Linked DNA regions of Homo sapiens: region 2 is linked to region 1. The links are contacts of gene promoters, found by promoter capture Hi-C in human tissues and cell types (Jung and others, 2019). All regions are on one chromosome and are shown on one strand. The core of a region is centred on a gene start or on the middle of the fragment in contact, and the rest is flanking DNA. Distances in the headings are between cores, read along the strand shown. Region 1 holds the start of ST14 (ST14 transmembrane serine protease matriptase). Region 2 overlaps SNX19 (sorting nexin 19).

What was found. Contacts are between HindIII fragments. The study calls those that stand out against the background at their distance.
Region 2: a fragment that was not itself captured here is called in contact with the fragment with the promoter of ST14 in region 1 in 2 of the 25 tissues and cell types used here (spleen and thymus).

The regions. Positions count from the first base shown.
Region 1 is chr11:130,158,277-130,161,836 of GRCh38, reverse strand. It overlaps ST14 (ST14 transmembrane serine protease matriptase), which reads right to left and starts at 2,055. Exons shown (of 19, transcript NM_021978.4): 1 at 1,777-2,055. The coding sequence starts at 1,857. RefSeq lists an enhancer at 320-819 and silencers at 1,907-1,976, 2,057-2,176. The HindIII fragment of the contact is 3,998 bases long and covers 1-3,067 here.
Region 2 is chr11:130,903,462-130,906,841 of GRCh38, reverse strand. SNX19 (sorting nexin 19) reads left to right here. Exons shown (of 11, transcript NM_014758.3): 6 at 121-217; 7 at 709-889. Among named protein-coding and RNA genes, the nearest start is that of SNX19, 11 kb to the left of the region's middle. The HindIII fragment of the contact is 6,489 bases long and covers 1-3,380 here.

The sequences.
Region 1 (3,560 bases), core at 806-3,305:
CATCTTACTGGTCTCTGAGAGCCTTCCCTTCACCCATGGGACTAGGTACTGAGTTAGTTCAATAAAGCTCGGCAGGAGAAAAGACAAAGAGCAAGCCAAGAGAATGAAAATGGCAGAGGGGGAAGGAACAGCCCAAGGGCGCAGAGAGCAAATGAGCTTCGCAGAGGAGGAGGAAATGAGCAGGGATGGGGGAAACTAAAGCCAGGGCTTGCAGGTGACAAGACAAGTCCGCTGAATGTGGGATCCTGGGGGTGAGTGGAAGGTGAGCCCCAGCCTGGCTGCTTGTCAGGTGGTGAGATGGCTCAGAGAGGAGGCTGGACCACACGACCAGGAAGACCCTGCTTTCCCCGTGTGGGCAGGAGAGTCCTAGAAAGGGAAGTCAGGGAGAACAAACTTGGGGTGGGGGCACCGGACTGCCCTGAAATAACAAATTCCAAACAGCAGGTTCTCTGCTGAAGAGGCAGGGAGTCTAGAACCCCAAGTAGGCAATTAGCAAGGACACAAACATAGCAATTACAGCAAGGAAGAGAAGGTGAATCTGCCTCACAGCAGGGCACAGGCACAGCCAGGGGAAGGGCCCAAGCCTTCAGGTCCACTGGAAGCTTTCCTCCTTGCTGAGGGTGAAAAGTGGAGAAAATAGCAGAGCCCAGCCCCAGGTCCTGTCTGTGGTGCAGGCAGCCTCCAAAGCCCCAGCGTCTGATTTTCTGCAAGCTCCCTAGGTCGGGATGCTGCTTGGACAAAAGGAATTGATCTGAGACAGCACCAAAATCAGGCCTGACTTAGGGAGCAACGGCGGAGACTATGGAGCCCAGGGGCACCCGGAAGGAGGGGAGAAAGTGAGGGTTGGCAGGGCAGGGAGGCCATCATTTGCAGAGGAGCAAAACTCTCTGCCACACAGCCCCTGCCTCTCAGCGCCGCCCTGACCTGGTATGCCCTGGCCTTCCAGGAAACCTGGGGGTCTGCCTTGGACAGAGAGGGTAGAGACCTGGCTGCTGGTCCCGCCCGGGCACTACCACCTAGGTGGGTCCGTCAATGAAGTGACTAGCGACCCATCCCCAACTCCATACAGGAACATGTAATCTTTTTGAGATCTTTCAATAGGTCTTTCATTGTTCTTTCTGCCAAAGAAGAGCTTCCTGTTTCGGTACTTCGCAAAAGGCTCAAGACATGTGTGTTCCCACATCCCTTCCCATACAGCCGCCTTCCCAAAGGGCTCCATCCCCTCTCGAGAAGCCCAGGCAAGCCCAACTCTGGAGTTCTTAGCTCCAGCCCGTATGGCAGCCAAAGCCCTGGCCTCCCAGTTGTCCTCTGCGAGGTCCCAAAGCGCCTTTTGACGGGGAAGGAGAGAGACGAAAGAAACTTTCTGCAGAGGCCAAGGATGGCTGAGACTCCAAACCCTCCTGAAATTTCACTTCCTCCCAAATAACCCCACTCCAAGCCCCTGGTTTCTTCCAGATGTTCACTAACAGCGCGAGAGTCATGGAGGGGCCGAGACGGAGCCCCTTTTTTCAACTCAGGGAAAGAAAGGACCGAGGGCGCAGGAAGGCCCAGGGGCTTCCCGCCTCCCCCTGGCGGGGCGCAGCCGGTCCGGTACCAAAGGTCCGGCCAGCCCCGCCCGCCCGCGGCCCGGCACCCGCTGAACAGGAAATTCCACCTGTGCGCCCAGAGCTCGGCCACCGACGGACACGCCAGGGGAGCCGGCCGAGCCCAGCGCCGCGCTGCAGGGTCGGGCGGGCAGGAGCTTCCCAGCGCCCCGGGTCCCCGGCCCGCGCTCACCTCGTGCCGGGAGTTGTACTTGAGTCCCGCGCCGAAGTCCTTCGGGCCCCCTCCGCCCTTGCGGGCCCGATCGCTCCCCATGGTCCCCGAGGCCGCTCGCGGGTCTCACAGGCGTCGTCCCTGCCGGCGGCCGGCTCCCATGGCCCGCAGGGCGCGGGGCGCGGGGCGCAGGCGGCGGGATTCCGGGCAGGCCCAGCGCGCCCGACCGGCGGCGGTGCCCTCGCCCTGGCGCGCTCTCTCTCCCTCTTCCTCTTTCTCCGGCTGCAGCTCCGCTCTCACACTCCGGCCCGGCCCACGCAGGTAGTTTCAGGGTGTGGCCTCGGCCCGCCCAGCCCGCCGCGCTCGCCTGCGCACCTGCCCGGCTCACCTGCCCGCCCCCGCCGGCCCTGGGGGAGGCTCCTCCCCTCGGCTCTGGGCCTGAAGGTGAGGGGGCCTCACTCGGGTGGTGGTCGCTAAGGCCCTCACCATCACCACGACGGCGTTCACCACCCCTCCGGCCCTCCAGGGGCCCTGCCCCGGGAGGGCAGCCCTTTATCCACCTCCTTGATGCCAACCATCTTTTCCCTCCTCCCTCATGCGCCTCCGGTCTCTCCCCTTCACCTTGCTCACTTTGCTACAGGACTAAATCGCATTTATGAACCCCCCAAAACCAAACAGAAACCAGAACCGCCCCTGGCCCAGGCTCCCCGTCGGCTACGCAGCCTCCTGTTCTCCAGGCGGGAGGCGCTTGCTGGCCTGCGCCCGGCTACCCTGGGGAGGCCCAGTGACATGAGCTGTGCCACCAGATGCCCTCTGAGCCATCCCAACGCCCCTCGCCCACTTGCAGCATCTGATGCTTCCTCAAATGCCCCCTTTCCCTGGATTCCGGTCCTCCTTTCTAGTCCTAAATGTCATGATTCCCAAAGTTCTCCCTTCAGTTTCATCCCTTTCTTCTCTAAGCTTTTTCTCTTGGCAGCACGTCTCATCTTACGACTTCAGACAGGAAGACCTCCCTCCCAGCACAGACACCACCAAGGAGTGCCAGTTCTGCCTTAGCGGTCGCCTGGGGACGTCTCCATTTATGTTCTACTGTATTCTGTAGCCAATGAACATTACCAAGCACACACTAGGCGCTAAGCACTGTCCTGGGTACAGGGAAACAGGAGTGAACAAAATAAAAATCCCTGCTTTGAGATCAACAAGCCCCATCTTCCTTCCCTGACTTGCCCATTTTCCACTGTTTTCTCTAATTCTAATGGCAGCATTCTCCCAGGCTCAAATCCTGGAATCATCTTTGATTCTCCACCCTGCTTACATCTCATATCCAATTAGTTCCAAATCTGATCAAGACTCTGCTGACAAGCATAGCCCTTCCATTCCTGCGCATTAGAAGACCGCTATTCGAGTCCTCAGAGCCCTTTGCCTGGTTAAGAAAGATCTCCTGCCTCTGGGCTGCCACCCTCTGATCTCTCCTACACAAAGCAGTCAGGTAAATCTGAAACCACAGCTCCTTTATGACTTTCCGTGTCTCCCGGATCAAATCCAACCTCCTTAGCCCAGCTTCACACTCTGCCCTGTCCTCCCTTAACACCGTGCCTCCAAGCATTCCTGTTTGGAGCCCCTCTCTCCAGCCAGGCGTTCTGATCTTGGCAGCTTTCATAAAGCTTTTCATCCCCTGGAAGCTCTTCTCCTTCATACTCCTTCCGCATATTGGGTCGAAGACACCGATGGGGTTTTTTAGTGTTGTTCATTGAATGTTTTTAGCTCTCTGCCTTCTGGGCACAGGCCAGGGTGTTACTCTCTCT
Region 2 (3,380 bases), core at 827-3,326, 740 kb before region 1:
AGCTCCCCAGAATAAGTATGGATATTCTTGTTGTGTTTTATTATCAGTACTTGCCAGCCCTTAGTGTGAGGCTCAAGGCCATAAATTACAACCTGTTTCTGCTCTTTGTTTCTGTACCAGGTCTAGGCTGAGGTTCTCATCCAGTAAAATTTCTCCAGCACTAAGTGTGACTGAAGCACAAGACAAGATTCTTTATTGTCTCCAGGAAGGCAATGTGGTAAGAACCAAAACCCAGAGAATGTGAGGCAAAAATATCTGAGATGTTGGTCCTGCAGTTACAGGTAGTTGAGATATTCTCTGAAGTCAGAAATGTCCTGCTAAATGACTTAATCAACGTTTGGATCTCCAGCTTTTATGCTAAAAGTATTTTCTCTAAGTGGTTTGGAATTCCTACCAGTTCTGGGTTGGCAGGTTGGCTTCTCAACCATGGTGGGTTTCGGATAATGGATGACAAGATAAGAAAGAAAGCTAGTTCCTGGAAAAAAAAATGGATGACCAAAAATGGGTGCAGAAATGATAATCCCAGGGCAGGCCTGTTTTACTTGCAACTTCGGTAAAAAATAAAATCTTTCCTAAAGGAGTCATAGCATCAGTTGGGTTTTATACCCAAGGTACTTATGCAGGGGAGAGGCAGGGAAACCTAGAGTGCTGCATTTGCTCCCCTACTGTCAGCATTCCATATGTGATATGCCACTGACTATTTCTTAGGAGTCTGAGACTCTATCCATGTCTGCGATGGAATCTTTTATTGAAAAACAGACAAAGTTACTGGAAATGCAGCCAACAAAAGCCCCAGAAAAAGATCCTGAACAACCTCCCAAAGGACGTGTGGACAGTTGCGTGTCAGATGCAGCCGTGCCAGCCCAAGACCCCAGCAACAGCGATCCAGGTGAGTGGCGAGGTCTCTGCTCCCATGGAGAAGGGAGCCAGGGTGGCATCCACTTGGTACTTGGGGTAGTTGGAGTTTGTAACTTTGATTTCTGTTCCATTCAGCTGAGCATGCCATGTGTTGAACTCCAGTGTTGGAGGTGCTGTGTTGGGGCACAGAGATGAGTAGTACATAGTTGCCACAGCGGAATCAAGCAGCAGAACAGGGCACAAACACAGGAAGTTCTAATCCAGCAGGATGAGATCATGCTGATAATATTGATAACTCATTAAACTTATTTTTGGCATGCTTTGGCATATCAGACTCTTGCATTTCTTAGAAACTTTCTTCCCTTAGTGTCTCAGTTTCCTGGTTTCCTTCATGCCTTTTTCGTGGCTTCTTAGTCCACTCTGTTGGCTCCATGATCCACCTGCCAGAGCTTGATTTTTGGCTCGCTGTCCTTATTCTACACACTCTTCCAGGGTGACTCCAGCTGTAGTGTTGGCTTCAGCTCTAACATGTGTGTGGTGATGCCTTAAACATTGAATATTGTATATCTTCACTTGGATATACCACAGGGCAACTGAAATGTAACGTGTTCAAGATGGAAATTGTCTTTTTTCCCCAGATCTATTCTTTTTATCTTTATTTACTGCCATGGCAGATGATACCACCTAGTTACCCAACATAAAGTAGGGAGGGAGAAGAGGTGAAAGCTTTACTTTCTCCTTATATGCATTGGAGGCAGAGCAATTTTGCCTTCCAGGAGAAGAAGAGCAGATGTGTACTCTGTAGAAGAAAAATTCAAAGCCCTAGATATTAATCAGTATGGTTACTGAACAAGAACTTAAAATAAGTATATCAGTTCCATCAAGATAAAGCCCTCTGTTGAGAATAAAAGATCACAAAATCTTGGATTCAAAACTGGGGAAAAAGCTGATTTCACTATTCTTTCTGAGGTGCCCATGAACAAATCACCTGACATCTCTTCTGAGGGCCTCAATTTAAGTCTGTGAAAAATGGGGTTGACAGCCCCATCCCTTCACACATCTCACAGTTAACTAAATGAAGTGATATGACAGTGAAAGCATCAGAGAACTCTAAGAGACTGTAAAGATGGTGGGGGGCAGGGTCAGTGTGGTAAGAATATCATTCTAGGCAAAGTCCAGCCTGTACATGTTGAACATCATATCTCTAGAGGGATGGTTTAGGCCTGAAACCCTTCTTCTATCTCTGAGAGACTCAAAATGCTCATATGATTATAAAAAACAAAAAAAAATCTACCATTTTCTTTAAGGCAACTGACTTGGTGGTACCTTGTTTGCTTTCTTATTTTTCACTGCTGTAACTAATTGTTACCACATGGTGGCAGCTCCAAGCAAATGCTAAACCTGAGAGAATCATACAATTGAGGACTAAGGCTCAGGATGATGCTGTCTCCCAAGGAATGCAATATTCCATCTTTGAGAAGATGATTAGAAATCACACAACATATCAGCTCCCAATCCTTGCAATACAAACAGAAAAGAAAATATGTATTATATAGGGTTAAGAGGGAAGTATGATTCAGTTCTAGTAGATCTGTCCAAATCGGAAGTCATTCATGTTCAAGGAGAGCTTGGGCAAGGTGATCCAGAGAGTATCCGTTTGTCCTACACTAACAAAGTCATTGTTGATATTACTTATAATATTAATCACAGCAGTGGCACCAGATATCTCAGATCCATTCTGTAACATCACATACTTGGAGGCAAATCAGACGTGACATTGGAACCCCAGGACAGGTTTAAACAGCACGTGCTTCCTTCCACAAAATACATTTGTTCAGGAAACCTTAGTTTAGCATGGGTATAAGCTCATTTGTGGCCCTTACAGTCTTTGAAACAGGAAAGAACGTAGTAATTGTTATGGCATTTTACCAGAGGTGTGGTGTTCTTCCTAGAACCACATGTTATCTCAAAATCAGACTGAAGCCTCCTGAATCCTAACCCCACAGCTCTGTGTAATGGAGGTTTTTCAGGAAAGTGAATGCCAACTCTTTCCCCACTTCTGCCACGGTGTTTCCATAATGCTTTGTGGGGGCGAGTGGAATGCAAGGTTGGAAAGAGAGGAGGCCTTGCCAGTTACACTTAGTCACTAGTTGTGATTTTCTTTGGAACAGAAAGTATTCAGCATCCTGGGGAAATACAGAAGAAATAGAAACTAAGTAGGCAAAATAAGTGCGTGTGTGTGTGTGTGTGTGTGTGTGTGTGTGTGTATGTGTATATATATATATATGTATATATACACACATATATATATTTAGCAGATATATATATAATTAGAAGATATATATCTTTTAAAAACATAGAAACATTTATTAGGTTACAATATCAGGAACATTAATAAAAATTGTAAAGAAATGCTGAGCCTGTCACTGAACCTTCTAGATATGAGTTAAACCTCTTTTGATTTGAGTGTAGAGGGATTGCAAAAATACCAGATGATTGGCATGAAGGTAGAGAGACACAGG